Regions from separate parts of the Homo sapiens genome. Here region 2 is linked to region 1. The links are contacts of gene promoters, found by promoter capture Hi-C in human tissues and cell types (Jung and others, 2019). All regions are on one chromosome and are shown on one strand. The core of a region is centred on a gene start or on the middle of the fragment in contact, and the rest is flanking DNA. Distances in the headings are between cores, read along the strand shown.

Evidence for each region. Contacts are between HindIII fragments. The study calls those that stand out against the background at their distance.
Region 2: a fragment that was not itself captured here is called in contact with the fragment with the promoter of SCIMP in region 1 in 8 of the 25 tissues and cell types used here (H1 embryonic stem cells, IMR-90 fibroblasts, adrenal gland and 5 more).

What each region holds. Positions count from the first base shown.
Region 1 is chr17:5,232,641-5,239,238 of GRCh38, forward strand. It overlaps SCIMP (SLP adaptor and CSK interacting membrane protein), which reads right to left and starts at 2,220. Exons shown (of 5, transcript NM_207103.3): 1 at 2,095-2,220. The coding sequence starts at 2,115. It overlaps ZNF594-DT (ZNF594 divergent transcript), which reads left to right. Exons shown (of 6, transcript NR_152840.1): 6 at 2,474-3,363. RefSeq lists enhancers at 2,462-2,661, 4,607-4,906. The HindIII fragment of the contact is 19,973 bases long and covers 1-6,598 here.
Region 2 is chr17:5,307,513-5,314,491 of GRCh38, forward strand. It overlaps RABEP1 (rabaptin, RAB GTPase binding effector protein 1), which reads left to right. Exons shown (of 18, transcript NM_004703.6): 2 at 1,182-1,310. Among named protein-coding and RNA genes, the nearest start is that of RABEP1, 29 kb to the left of the region's middle. The HindIII fragment of the contact is 6,443 bases long and covers 294-6,736 here.

The DNA of each region.
Region 1 (6,598 bases), core at 970-3,469:
GCCCCAGTTCACCTCTAATTCCCCGACTGTTGCTGTTCATGCTAAGTGAGGCCTTGTTCCCACTCGTTCTTCTTCTTTTTTTTTTTTTGAGATGGCGTCTTGCTCTGTCACCCAGGCTAGACTCCACTGGTGCAATCTCAGCTCACTGCAACCTCTACTTCCTGGTTCAAGCTATTCTCCTGTGTCAGCCTCCTGAGTAGCTGGGATTACCGACACGCACCACCATACCCGGCTAATTTTTGTGTATTTTTAGTAGAGATGGGGTTTTGCCATGTTGGCCTGGCTGGTCTCAAACTCCTGACCTCAAGTGATCCACCTGCCTCGGCCTCCCAAAGTGCTGGGATTACAGGCGTGAGCCACTGAGCCTCGCTCCACTTGTCCTTCTCACTGATGTCAGCACCAGAAATGGCCATGTGGATAGTCACTGGCAACTTAAAACCCAAGTGTGCATGGGGAAGTGCACGGCAGGGTCATTAAAAGGAGTCCAGCCTCTCTTCTTCCCTTCTCTATACTTTCACTTCTGGAAAAGACCGGAAACCTTGCCTCATTCCTCTTTCTCCCATGGCCCCATCCCCACCCCGCTTCAGCCCATCAGCCTCCAAATGTAGTCCAAGTCCTCATCTCTGTACCTGGACCATTGCATTTTCGCTGGCCCCTAGCCCCCACTGGGCTCCCCACTGGCTGCCAAATACCAGTGTGACCCTGTCCCTTCCTTGCTTTAAGCCTCTCAGTAGTTTGTTTGTTTGTTTTTGAGATGGAGTCTTGCTCTGTCACCAGGCTGGAGTGCAGTGACATAATCTTGGCTCACTGCAACCTCCACCTCCCGGGCTCAAACGATTCTCCTGCCTCAGCTTCCCGAGTAGCTGGGGCTATAGGCGCCCACCACCATGCCCAGCTAATTTTTGTATTTGTAGTAGAGACAGGGTTTCACCATGTTGGCCAGGCTGGTCTTGATCTCTTGACCTTGTGATCTGCCCACCTTGGCCTCCCAAAGTGCTGGGATTAGAGGCGTGAGCCACCATGCCCCGCCTGCCTCTCAGTAGTTATTTACCACTGAAGCAGAGTGAAGCCTGTGCTCCACATTGCTTCATGGCCAAGACCTCAGGGACAAGTGGACACACCAGGCAGTGGGAGTGGATATGGCAAAGCCAAACCCAGATCTCTTCTCAAAATAATTTTCCAGAGGGCAAAAGCAGATGGCTACACCGAGAACTCACGCCAGCCCAACACACTTTGATCTCGAGGCCTCTGGAAGGGAAGGTGCCTAATGAACTACTGAAAGCCAGAGATGCAATGACAAAGGTACCAAGACTGGAGGTGATCCAGGTCTTTCATCCAAGAGCCCCAAGACGTAGCCTAAATTCATGCTACGGTAATCCCAGCACTTTGGGAGGCCGAGGCGGGCGGATCACCTGAGGTCAGGAGTTCGAGAGCAGCCTGGCCAACATGGTGAAACTCCGTCTCTACTAAAAATACAGAAATTAGCCAGGTGTGGTGGCGGGTGCCTGTAATCCCAGCTACTCAGGAGGCTGAGGCAGGAGAATCGCTTGAACCCGGGAGGCGGTGGTTGCAGTGAGCCGAGATCACGTCACTGCACTCCAGCCTGGGCGACAAGAGCGAAACTCCATCTCAAAATAAAATAAAAATAAATAAATTGACACAGTCAGTGCCTCGCTCCCACCCCCACCTCCAGCATAGCACCATGACAGTCTTCTCACATAACAAGTCCCAAAACACACCATCGGCATCCAGAAAGTGAGAGTAACTCGTTACAGTTGAGACCTCTCACTCCCGGTCATTATCTCATTTCAATCCAAGAGGTAGACTTCTTCATCGCCCCTGACATACACATGAGGAAAAGGCCCAGAGAGGTGAAGTGATGCCTCAGGTCACTCAGCCAGTTACCAGTAGAGCAGATCCTTCAATGCAAGTTTTTCTCCAACCCTACACAGCAGTCGTACCAGGGCCCCAGGCTGCAATCCCCTGGCCCAGTGCTGATCGGTGGCTCCCAGGGACACGCCCTGATGCCAGCGCTGGCAGATGTCTGCTGTGAAGAGAGCAGGAAACTGTCCCTTGGAAAGCTGAGATGCTTACCTGAACTGTGAAAGTATCCATATGTGAGCAGCTAAGGAGACAGCAGTGGCTGGAGTGCTGCAGCTCAGGCACAGCTGGTGAGAGGCATTCCTCACTCACAGGCCTTCACCCACTGCTAGAGACAGTGAGCCCCATCCTGACCACTTCCCCTTTCTAGTCAGCCCACGGGGCAGAGACCCTGGCGTCATCTCTAGGCAACCATCCCTTTTCCAGGGAAGCTCATGACCCACGGCTGTCCAGAAGCCAGAATCTTCTCACTGCCCCGTGTCGCTCCCGCAAGGCCTACCAGAGGACCCTCATGGTGTGGTAGGGGGTCCTGGCAGGGGCCAGGGGCCAGGGTGGAGACTTGGCAGTGGGGGTGGGTTTGGTGTCCCCACAGACGAGTTTGCCGTGAGCATTCCTGGATGTGGCAACCTCAGTCTCAAGAAGAGCGACAGGACGCCAGCTCCCATGCAGAGACAGATCCAGGTAAGAAACCAGCTCATGTGTGACAAACTCACCATCTCACCATGAAGGTGACTCTTGAAAGCTCCTGTGCACCTTGGAACTGCTGAGACATCTTCTGCTTGGAGGAGGCAAGGGACAGGCTTCCTGTTTCTAAAGGCGTGTGAGTGGCGACCTTGAGAAATGTGGCCAGTGGAGCATTTTGACTGAGTTGGGTCCCCTCGTGCAATACTGTGAGACAGAACTCCCAGCGAGGCCCACGGCCTCTGACCATGGGGGTTGGAGTGGGGAAACCAATTAGCCATTTTGTTGAATTGGCTGGTTCTGACTCAAATGAGCAGTCACATTAGTAAAAATAGGCAAACGGATGTGCATTGTATTTGCCCAGAGCGAATGAGTTGTTATCCATTTCAGTAATAATGATAACCAGATATGTCTGATAAATATCTGATAATGTCTGATATATGTCTGGTAAATTTAACAAACACCGGGCTCTGGCTGGGTGCGGTGGCTCACACCTGTAATCCCAGCACTTTGGGAGGCCAAGGCGGGTGGATCACCTGAAGTCAGTAGTTCGAGACCAGCCTGGCCAACATGGTGAAACCCCATCTCTACTAAAAATACAAAAATTAGCTGGGCATTTTGGTGTGAACCGGTAGTCCCAGCTACTCAGGAGGCTGAGGCGGGAGAATTGCTTGGACCCGCGAGGTGGAGGTTGCAGTGAGCCAAGATCACACCATTGCGCTCCAGCCTGGGCAACAGAGCAAGACTCTATCTCAAACAAACAAAACAAAACATCTGGCTCAGAAGATTCCTGATTTGCAGTGTTTACTAATTTCTTTTTTCTTTTTCTTTCTTTCTTTCTTTTTTTTTTTTTTTTTTGAGATGCAGTCTCACTCTGTCGCCAGGCTGGAGTGCAGTGGCTCAATCTCAGCACACTGCAACCTCCGACTCCCAGGTTCAAGCAATTCTCCTGCCTCAGCCTCCCAAGTAGCTGGGACTACAGGTGTGTGCCACCGCATCCGGCTAATCTTTGTATTTTTAGTAGAGACAGGGTTTCACCATGTTGGCCAGGCTGGTCTCGAACTCCTGACCTCAAGTGATCCACCTGCCTCGGCCTCCCAAAGTGCTGGGATTACAGAGTTGAGCCACTGCACCTGGCCAAGGCCTGAACTCTTTCTTCTTAGGCTCATCCAAAGTTTAGCTGCTAAAAAACCTTCCTAAAAGCCAATTTAAAATTTTCTTCTAGGCCGGGCACAGTGGCTCACGCCTGAAATCCCAGCACTTTGGGAGGCCAAGGCAGGCGGATCATGAGGTCAGGCGTTTGAGACCAGCCTGGCCAACATGGTGAAATCCCGTCTCTACTAAAAATACAAAAATTAGCCAGGCATGGTGGCAGGTGCCTGTAGTCCCAGCTACTTGGGAGGCTGAGGCAGAAGAATCGCTTGAACCTGGGAGGCGGAGGTTGCAGTGAGCCGAGATCGAGCCACTGCACTCCAGCCGGGGTGACAGAGCAACACTCCGTCTCAAAAAAAAAAAAAAAAAAAATTCTCTTCTGAGGGGTGAATAAATGCTTCTGTGGATAGAGCTCATCCTAGGCTAACAAAGCTGTGACTTCTTGGTTTGTGTTTCATTCATTCATTCAATAAATTACTCAATAAATTATTTTGCTAACCTTTAAGGACCTCAGTTCAGCTGTGATATAGTAAACTCTGTAGCCCTACTATTTCTAACAATGCCTTTTGCACAGCAAGTTCAAGCCTGAGGTGTCAGGTGATCAGAATTCCAGGCCCGGTTTGACAAAACTTTCTTTGTGAATCCTTCCCTTCTCTGAGCCTCAGTTTCCTTGTTGTAAAATGAAAGAATTCAATTGACAAATATGAAAGTGCTCCAGGGATTTTGCCATCTGCCTTCAAGAAAGTCCCGCAAAGTGTAGGAGGAAGTTGAAGCCATAATATGATGCAGGCTAAATACAATGACCTTCAATTTGTGCCAGACCCTGTGCTCAACAAGTAGAGACTCAGAACTGGGCAAGTCATTCATGGGTAGAGCACATGGCACATGTTCTACAGGACAGAAGGCACATAAGTTATTACTATGCAAAGTGATGAATGCTAGTGCTGTGGAAGCACAAAAGTGGGAGAGAAGAAAGGGTCTGAGTGGTAGCATTTGAACTGGGCCTTGAAGGATGTGTAGGAGCTCACCAAATGGACAGAATGTGGACAGACACAAAGCAGCCATAGTATTTGGAGAGAAAGAGATGGTTGCATGGCTGATCAAGAGTGAATGTGTTGGGCAGTCAGAGGCTTGAGAGCAAAGTTTAGGGACACACACCACGGCATCTGGATCTACCCACTTCCTTGCTATCTACATTCTTCCCCGACTCCACCATTTGTCTTTCCACCACAAGAGGAGGGCAGGAAGTTGGGGCGGTTGTGTTCTTTCTGCACATCTGAAATGCCACCTGCTGGTCTGGGCAACTAAAGAGGTCCCTGAGGGCCCTAGATTAGCGGCTGGACCAGAGGGTGTCAAGGAGAATGAAGGGCACCCTCTAGTGGTCACCTGTGGTGCTTTCTCCTCAGGATTCTGGTCCCTCTGACCTCCCCGTAGGGATGGCTGGACACACAAGATGTTCACCTCTTAAAGCTACAGAGACCATCAGGCTAGAGGACACTCAGAAGGGATTCCAGTCCACCCTTCATCTCATGACTCAACCTTTTTGTCAACATCCGGGTGGCACCCAGCTTCTGCCGTTTTGTTTCTTCTCACTCAGTCATCTAAGTCATGTGTAAAATGAGGTGTTATTCTTTGTGCCACTCACAAGTGTCAATTAATCCCCATCATGAGAAAAAAACTGAAGAAAGAGAAATCATAAGATACAACATATAATTAGAACATTAATAGATTTTATTGCAGTTTTTAAAAAGGTGGGGGTTTTTGTTTGTTTTTGTTTTTGTTTTTGAGACAGAGTTTCGCCCTTATTGCCCAGACTGGAGTGCAATGGCGCGATCTTGGCTCACTGCAACCTCCACCTCCTGGGTTCAAGCAATTCTCCTGCCTCAGCCTCCAGAGTAGCTGGGATTACAGGCATGCGCCACCATGCCCTGCTAATTTCGTACTTTTAGTAGAGATGGGGTTTCTCCATGTTGGTTAGGTGGCTGGTCTTGAACTCCTAACATCAGGTGATCTGTCCACTTCAGCCTCCCAAAGTCCTGGGATTACAGGCATCAGCCACCACTCCGGGCACAATAACTCATCTTTAAAGAGCTCTGAGAGCAATATGGGTGGCCAAAGCACTCAGGTGGAACCAGAAGTCATCACTAAGCAACCGTGGCTGCTTTGTTTGTCCCTAACAATAGCCAAGCAGATGTTGTAGCTCCTCTGTCTCCCACCCTGGCCCCATGACATTGAGGTGGGGTCGTTCCAGCTCAGATGTAAAAAGGCAAGTGTATAAGTATTTGGGGTTGTGGCAGGAGGCAGCCGTGTCTTGTGTATGAAGGGAGTCCCTGCCCACTTCTCCCCATTTCTGGAGGTAAAGATTCCCATGAAAGGTACTAGGAGCATTGGGCCCCTAAACCCCAGAACCCATGAGTATGTTATTTTAGATGGTGAAAGGGATTTTGCAGATATGACTAAGGATTTTGAAGTGGGGAAGTCATGCAGGATTATCGACATGGACCCCATGTAATCACAAGATCCTTCTGAGAGGGATACAGGAGAGTCAGGGTCAGTGGCAGGGGATGTGCTGGCAGAGGCAAGAGACTGGGGAGATCCGAAGAAGGGGTCTCGAGCCAAGAAATGCAGGCAGTCTCAAGGAGCTGGTAATGGCTGGGCAATGGATTTTCCCCTGGGACAGGGATGGAGAGACAGCAGTGATTTCAGTTCTCACTCTTGAACCTTCTCTCTTCTTCGTTCCCAAACATGAGTCCACCAGCCCCATTACCACTCAACTGACTGGGAGCCACATCAACCATAACTCTTATGATTTACCAGTTGTAATACTTAAGCATTTTCTGTGGCCTGGCAATTTATTTATTTATTCATTTATTTTTGAGACGGT
Region 2 (6,979 bases), core at 2,265-4,764, 76 kb after region 1:
GTGACTTGCAGTAGGAAACTTGGCCCTCTGCTGGCCTAAGTAGTTAGTGGTTGATTAGTACTAACCGATATCCCCTAAAGGGATTATGGTCATAGCTTTAAGGCTGGGATGCTGTTGGGGCAAAAGGGGAGATCAGGGGTTTGCACAGCTGGACCTCCTATCTTATGCTTCAATCAAAGGAACCCCTGGGTTTGGTCAGGGAAGGCAATCATTTAACCAGCTGTGTCCAAATTATAGAGTCCATAAAGTAAAAAGTCTGCTAATCTCCGCACACCATGATCAATGTTGAAAACATGGAAGAAAACCAGATTATCTCCCAGTAATTGAGAGTTTATATAGAATGTGCAGTTCTGTATCCTCTCTATGAATGGGTTTTTGATTATGATCTCAGTATAATGGTAATGGATCATTTTGAAGTTGGAAGAATAGTTCAGTCTGGTATGGCTACACTAGTTAGGGAACCTATTAGATTTTGCTTGTGACACTTGAGAGAAATGGGAAATAGCAAGATTGGCAGTAGGTTCATTTGTGGGATAAGTAGTTCAAATAATCCAATATTTAACAGTTCTAAAATTAAATTGCTATTCAGTTGCACAAAGGCACTTTAGAAGCTCTTTTTTTTGTGGGGAAGTTGGCCTTATGTGATTCTCTGTATATTTGTGGTTTCACTTTACATGACTCATTTACAGTTGTGTATTAAGTCTAATACAAGGATCTTTTTTTTTTTTTTTGAGACAGAGTCTCACTCTGTCACCCAGGCTAGAGTGCAGTGGTGCGATCTCGGCCCACTGCAACCTCCGCCTCCCGGGTTCAAGCGATTCTCCTGCCTCAGCCTCCTGAGTAGCTGGGATTACAGGCACCTGCCACTACACCTGGCTAATTTTTGTATTTTTAATAGAGATGGGATTTCTCCATGTCGGCCAGGCTGGTCTCGAACTCCTGACCTCGGGTGATCCGCCCGCCTCGGCCTCCCAAAGTGCTGGGATTACAGGCGTGAGCCACCATGCCTGGTCTGTCTTACTTTTTTTAAACATTAGAATATCCTAGCATATGGTGGATTTTTGGAAGAAGCTTGACTACTTGTTTCACGTATAGCAATGTACAGCTAGAATACTAATTTACTGTTTTATAAATTTATGAATAAAAGTTATTACTTGTTAACTAGTGTTTTTTTCCCCCAGTTTCTCTTCAGCAACGGGTAGCAGAATTGGAAAAAATTAATGCAGAATTTTTACGTGCACAACAGCAGCTTGAACAAGAATTTAATCAAAAGAGAGCAAAATTTAAGGAGTTATATTTGGCTAAAGAGGGTAAGTTCATAAGTCTCGCACCAACTTCAATGCGAAAACTGCCTTAAAGTGTTGAGTTTCTTGGTAGTAGTGTTAATTTTATCATTGAATAAACCTTGATTTTATTTGTACTTGCATAATAAAAGAATACTGTTTAAAGGCTAGGTTAAGAATGGGATTGAAAAACAAGTTGAAAAATGCCTTCTTCAGATTTTGCCTTGTTTTTTGATCTTACTGTTCATATTTAGGTTGCATAGCCTTGAGATAAGAGAATGTTATTGCTCTTAACATTTGGGATACAGTTGTGGGCAAACTAGGATTGTTGGCATTCTAATAACAGCTTTAGCTATGTTATCTTTAATTCCATGAAACATCAGTTTTACCCAACAAATATTCAGTTATTTATCAATAAATATTTATTTAATATCTACTATGAGGCAGACATTATACTTGTGTTGGGTATACAGAAAGAGGAAAATTCATGTGGTTCTTTAACTTGGTTGAACTCAATGAGCAAAACAGATGTTAAGTAATTGTGTGATGAGTCGTTAAAACAGGAAATTGCAGGCTGGGCGCGGTGGCTCACACCTGTAATCCCAGCACTTTGGGAGGCCAACGGGCGGGGGCGGATCACCTGAGGTCGGGAGTTCAAGTCCAGCCTGGCCAACATGGAGAAACCCTGTCTGTACTAAAAATACAAAATTAGCTGGGCATGGTGGCGCATGCCTGTAATCCCAGCTGCTCGGGAGGCTGAGGCAGAAGAATTGCTTGAACCCAGGAGGCAGACGTTGAGGTGAGCTGAGATTGCGCCATTGCACTCCAGCGTGGGCGACAAGAGTGAAACTCCCATCTCAAAAAAAAAAAAAAAAGAAAAAGAAACTGTATAAGGAAAATACATGAGAGAACATGTTGGGGGACCTGATTTGAAGGATCAGGGAAGGGGCTTACCTTCTGAGTATCGACCTAGAATAATGTGAATGTAGTTTCCACAGCTCTCTAGACCAGTGATTCTCAAAGTGTGATTGTGGAACAGCATCATTATCGTCATCATCACCTGGGAAAGTTGTTAGAAATGCAAATGTTTGGGTCCCACCCAGATTTACTGAGTTAGAAACTGTGGGATTTGGGTCCAGCTGCACACTAAATTTTGAAAACTGCTCTAGTCTATAATAGAATAGTGGCTCTCAAATTCAAATGTGGATAAAAATCACCTGGAGAGCTTGTTAAACCACAGTATGTTTGGGTGGAGCCCAGAAATTTGCATTTCTAATAAGCTCATAGATGATTCCAGTTACTGCTAGTTCAAGTACTACAGTTTGAAAAATCCTGTTCTGGACTAGTGATCATGCACCTTTTTTAACTTATGAACTCTGTAAAATATATACTTACATACAACCTTCATACATGTTAAAGTTGATGTTTAAAATTTTTTGCTTGAAAAGATGTGAAGGATAAAATTTTATATTGTTGATATTTACAATTTAAATGAAAGCTTCGTCCTTTTTTTTTTTTTTTTTTGAGATGGGAGTCTCCCCCGACATCTTCCCCTGTCACGCAGGCTGGAGTTCAGTGGCACTATCTCAGCTCACTACAACCTCCGCCTCCCATATTCAAGTGATTCTCCTGCCCTGCCCCAGCCTCCCGAGTAGCTGGGATTACAGGTGTGTGCCACCATGCCCGGCTAATTTTTGTATTTTTAGTAGAGACGGGGTTTCACCATGTTGGTCAGGCTGGTCTCAAACTCCTGACCTTGTGATCCGCCCGCTTCGGCCTCCCAAAGTGCTGGGTGAGCCACCACGCCTGGCCAACTTCCTGCTTTTAAACATATCCAGTGGAATGAAAATATCAGTGATTTATCCATTGTTATCTGTTTAACAAACACATGAATAGCTTTATAGCCGAAATTTTACAGTGGTTTTCCTCCTTGCGTTGGGTTTTCTTCTTTACATCTCCTTTAGAATTTTTTTCTTAAAAATGGTTTTGAAACTTGAGTGTGCATTTGTTTCATTCATTTTTTTTTTTTTTTGAGACCGAGTCTCGCTGTGTTGTCCAGGCTGAAGTGCAGTGGTGTGATCTTGGCTCACTGCAACCTCCGCCTCCTGGGTTCAAGCGACTCTTGTGCCTTAGCCTCCCTAGTAGCTGGGGCTACAGGTGTGTGCCACCACGCCCTGCTAATTTTTGTATTTCTAGTAGAGACGGGGTCTCACCATGTTGGCCAGGCTGGTCTCGAACTCCTGACCTCAGATGATCCGCCTGCCTCGGCCTCCCAGAGTGCTGGGATTACAGGCGTGAGCCACCACAATGGGCTTGCGTGTGCATTTGAATTACCTAATAGGGTTCGTTAAAACAAGGATTACTGGCTTCCCCCCTCAGAGACGCTGACTCACTAGGGCACTGGGATCCAGAGTTTGTGTTTTTAGCAAGTTACCAGTTGGCGGAGATGTTACTGTTCAGAGACCATACTTTAAAAACTACTGGCCTAAAGTAACATCTTGTGCTTGGAACTCTTAAAATATGCATATAAATGTTTTCTTTACGGAGATATTATTAAAATTTATTATAAATACACAGTTGATCACATTATGGATATTTTACATATTACTATGAAAATAAGGCCAGGCACGGTGGCTGACACCTGTAATCCCAGCATTTTGGGAGGCCGAGGCAGGCGGATCACAAGGTCATGAGTTCGAGACCAGCTGGGCCAACATGGTGAAACTCTGTCTCTACAAAAAAAATACAAAAATTAGAAGGCATGTTGGCATGGGTCTGTAATCCCAGCTACTCAGAAGGCTGAGGCAGGAGAATCGCTTGAACCTGGGAGGCGGAGGTTGCAGCAAGCTGAGATTGTGCCACTGCACTCCATCCAGCCTGGGTGACAGAGCGACTTCATCTCAAAAAAAAAAAAAAAAAAAAAAACAGACTAAAAAATAGGAAAATATAAAAATCATTGGAAATGCAGCTCTTTTGAGATATATTGGTTCTCATTAAATCGTTAATCTCTGGATGCATATTATTTACTGCTAGAAAAAGATAGCTTGTCAGCATCAATTCTATTGTAGTTTTATTTTTTTAAACATATAAATGCCAAGAACCCTTGGTCTCATGAGTGAGTAAATAGAAACAGAGTTTTATTACAGCAATTATTATTCAATTCTCTTAGCTGTTTCTAAATTATATGTTAAATTACATAGTTCTTTAGCATCAAAATGTTTTTATCCTATCAGCTAACAACTGAATTAGGTCTGTCTTCAATTTTGTTGAAAGAGGACTTGCGTCCACCTGACTTGCCAAAAGATTTGTTACACTGTTATTAGTCATTCACTTTTTAATTATTGACACTAATTTTAGTTATCCCTCTGTGAGGCAGAGTCTCACTTTTTCGCTCAGGCTGGAGTGCAGTGGCACAACAATCTTGGCTCACTGCAACCTCTGCCCCACGGTTCAAGTGATTCTCCTGCCTTAGCCTCCCGAGTAGCAGGGATTACAGGTGTGTGCCACCACACCTGGCTAATTTTTTTGTATTTTTAGTAGAGACAGGGTTTCACCCTGTTGGCCAGGCTGATCTTGAACTCCTAACCTCAAATGATCTGCCCGCCTCAGCCTCCCAAACTGCTGGGATTACAGGCATGAGCCACCGTGCCTGGCCTCATAGAGGAGTTTTTAATACAACAGGACAATGAACCATAGTAAAATACTATATGATGGAAGGTTCTTAGGCCTTGTAGAATTTAGCCCTGGCTTGGAAAGGATTACTGACTGTGGTATGGAATGGAGTTCCATTTTTTCATGGCTTTCAGGAGGGCTGTTTTTTATTTTCTTTTATAGGCTGGTAAGTAGGTGGGAAAGCTGATGTTCATGTCTAGTCATGGTGGCACTCTGCAAGACACTGTGGAGGTTGGGATGAATGAGATATATGGTTTCTATTCCCAAGAAAGAATAGTCTACTGTGGTAGATAATACATTTTGCACAGTATCATCATTTCAAGATGTATTGTGTGTCACAAGAAATAGTCCTGTCTGGACTAGGCACGGTCGCACATGCCTGTAATCCTAGCAGTTTGAGAGGCTGAGGCGGGTGGATCACCTGAGGTCAGGAGTTAGAGTCCGGCCTGGCCAACATGGTGAAACCCTGTCTGTATTAAAAATACAAAAATTAGCTGGGCCTGGTGATGGTGTGTGCCTGTAGTCCCAGCTACTTGGGGAGCTCAGTTAGGAGAATTGCTTGAACCCAGGAGGCAGAAGTTGCAGTGAGCCAAGATCGCGCCACTGCACTCCAGCCTGGTCGACAGAGCGAGACTCTGTCTCAAGAGAAATAAGTTCTATCTGGTTATTCAGTATCTTTACATGAATTTATCGTCTCCCTTTTAAAATTTGTTCATGTTTTTGAATTAATCAAGCACCACTGTCAACTCTGAAATGCTATATTCTTGTCAAGATGACCTGTAATACATTTGATGTATATATAAAAGGTTGTGGTAGTATTTTCTCTGGTGATAAGTTGAAACCCAGCAGTATGATGCTGGCTAATGATATCCATTTTCTCCTTTACCTCTTATACCAAAACCTCTGTAGCTTGTTCATCCTGTCTACAGCTAATTGAAGTCAGTCTTGTCTAAACCTTGTTTGTTTTGCTTTCTTTTTCTCTGTCCCCAATAAAACTGTTAGGGTTCCTTTGTTTTCTTATTTTCTTTGAAATTATAAAATAGAATTTTCCCAAAAACTCTGAAGAAATGAAAATGACTAAGAACCTCCCATTTCTGAAATGCATTATCAACTGCAGTTTTAGATCTGTGAATTAAAGAGCTTGTAACATGGGTTGGTTCAGAAAACATGCTTGGTTTGTTAAGATTGCATTGATGCATCTAAACCCGGTAAATGGGCTTTTTGTGTACTGTTGTATCTTTACTGTCCAGAGCGCTCAGTAAACTCAGTTGGCCACAGCGAACAGTTGGGGTAGCTTTTTACAAAATTTCAAAAAAAATACTGTGATCCTTTTTGAGTTTTTGGTGGCGTTCCTAAAGAAAATGCATAGTATATAAAAGGTCAATGCTGATTATTAGTTTTTGTCTTGGCCGTTAGCCTATATCATAATAAAAATCAAATGTGAAGATTTCCCCTGAGACAGCAGCTTTTATTGTATCTACTGTGAAGTCTAAATCTAGTCTTTAATGATTGCCACAGGTGTTTACAGTATAAACCAGGATTTTGATGTGGACAGCAGTCTTTGTTTTATCTTTCAGGAAAACCAGGTCAAGGTAACCCTGAAAGTCCAAACATTGGTTTTTCCCCAATAGGTCCAGCTTTTGCTTTAGTGTTGTCATAGCTGTGTTTGCACTTGTTTGGAGAATAGCTGAAATATAAGTGCAAATGGTAATGAGAAATGCACCTTTTTACTTCTCTTACTGCCTGTTCTTTTCTTAGTACCTATTCTTTTTTTTTTTTTTTTTTTTTTTTTTGAGATGGAGTTTTGCTCTGTTGCCCAGGCTGGAGTGCAGTGGCACGATCTTGGCTCACTGCAGCCTCCGCCTCCCAGGTTCAAGTGATTCTCCTGCCTTAGCCTCCTAAGTAGCTGGGACTACAGGCGGGTGCCACCACGCCCAGCTAGTTTTTGTATTTTTAGTAGAGTTGGGCTTTCACCACGTTTTCCAGGCTGGTCTTAGTACCCCTTCTTTTCCAAGCCGACTTCA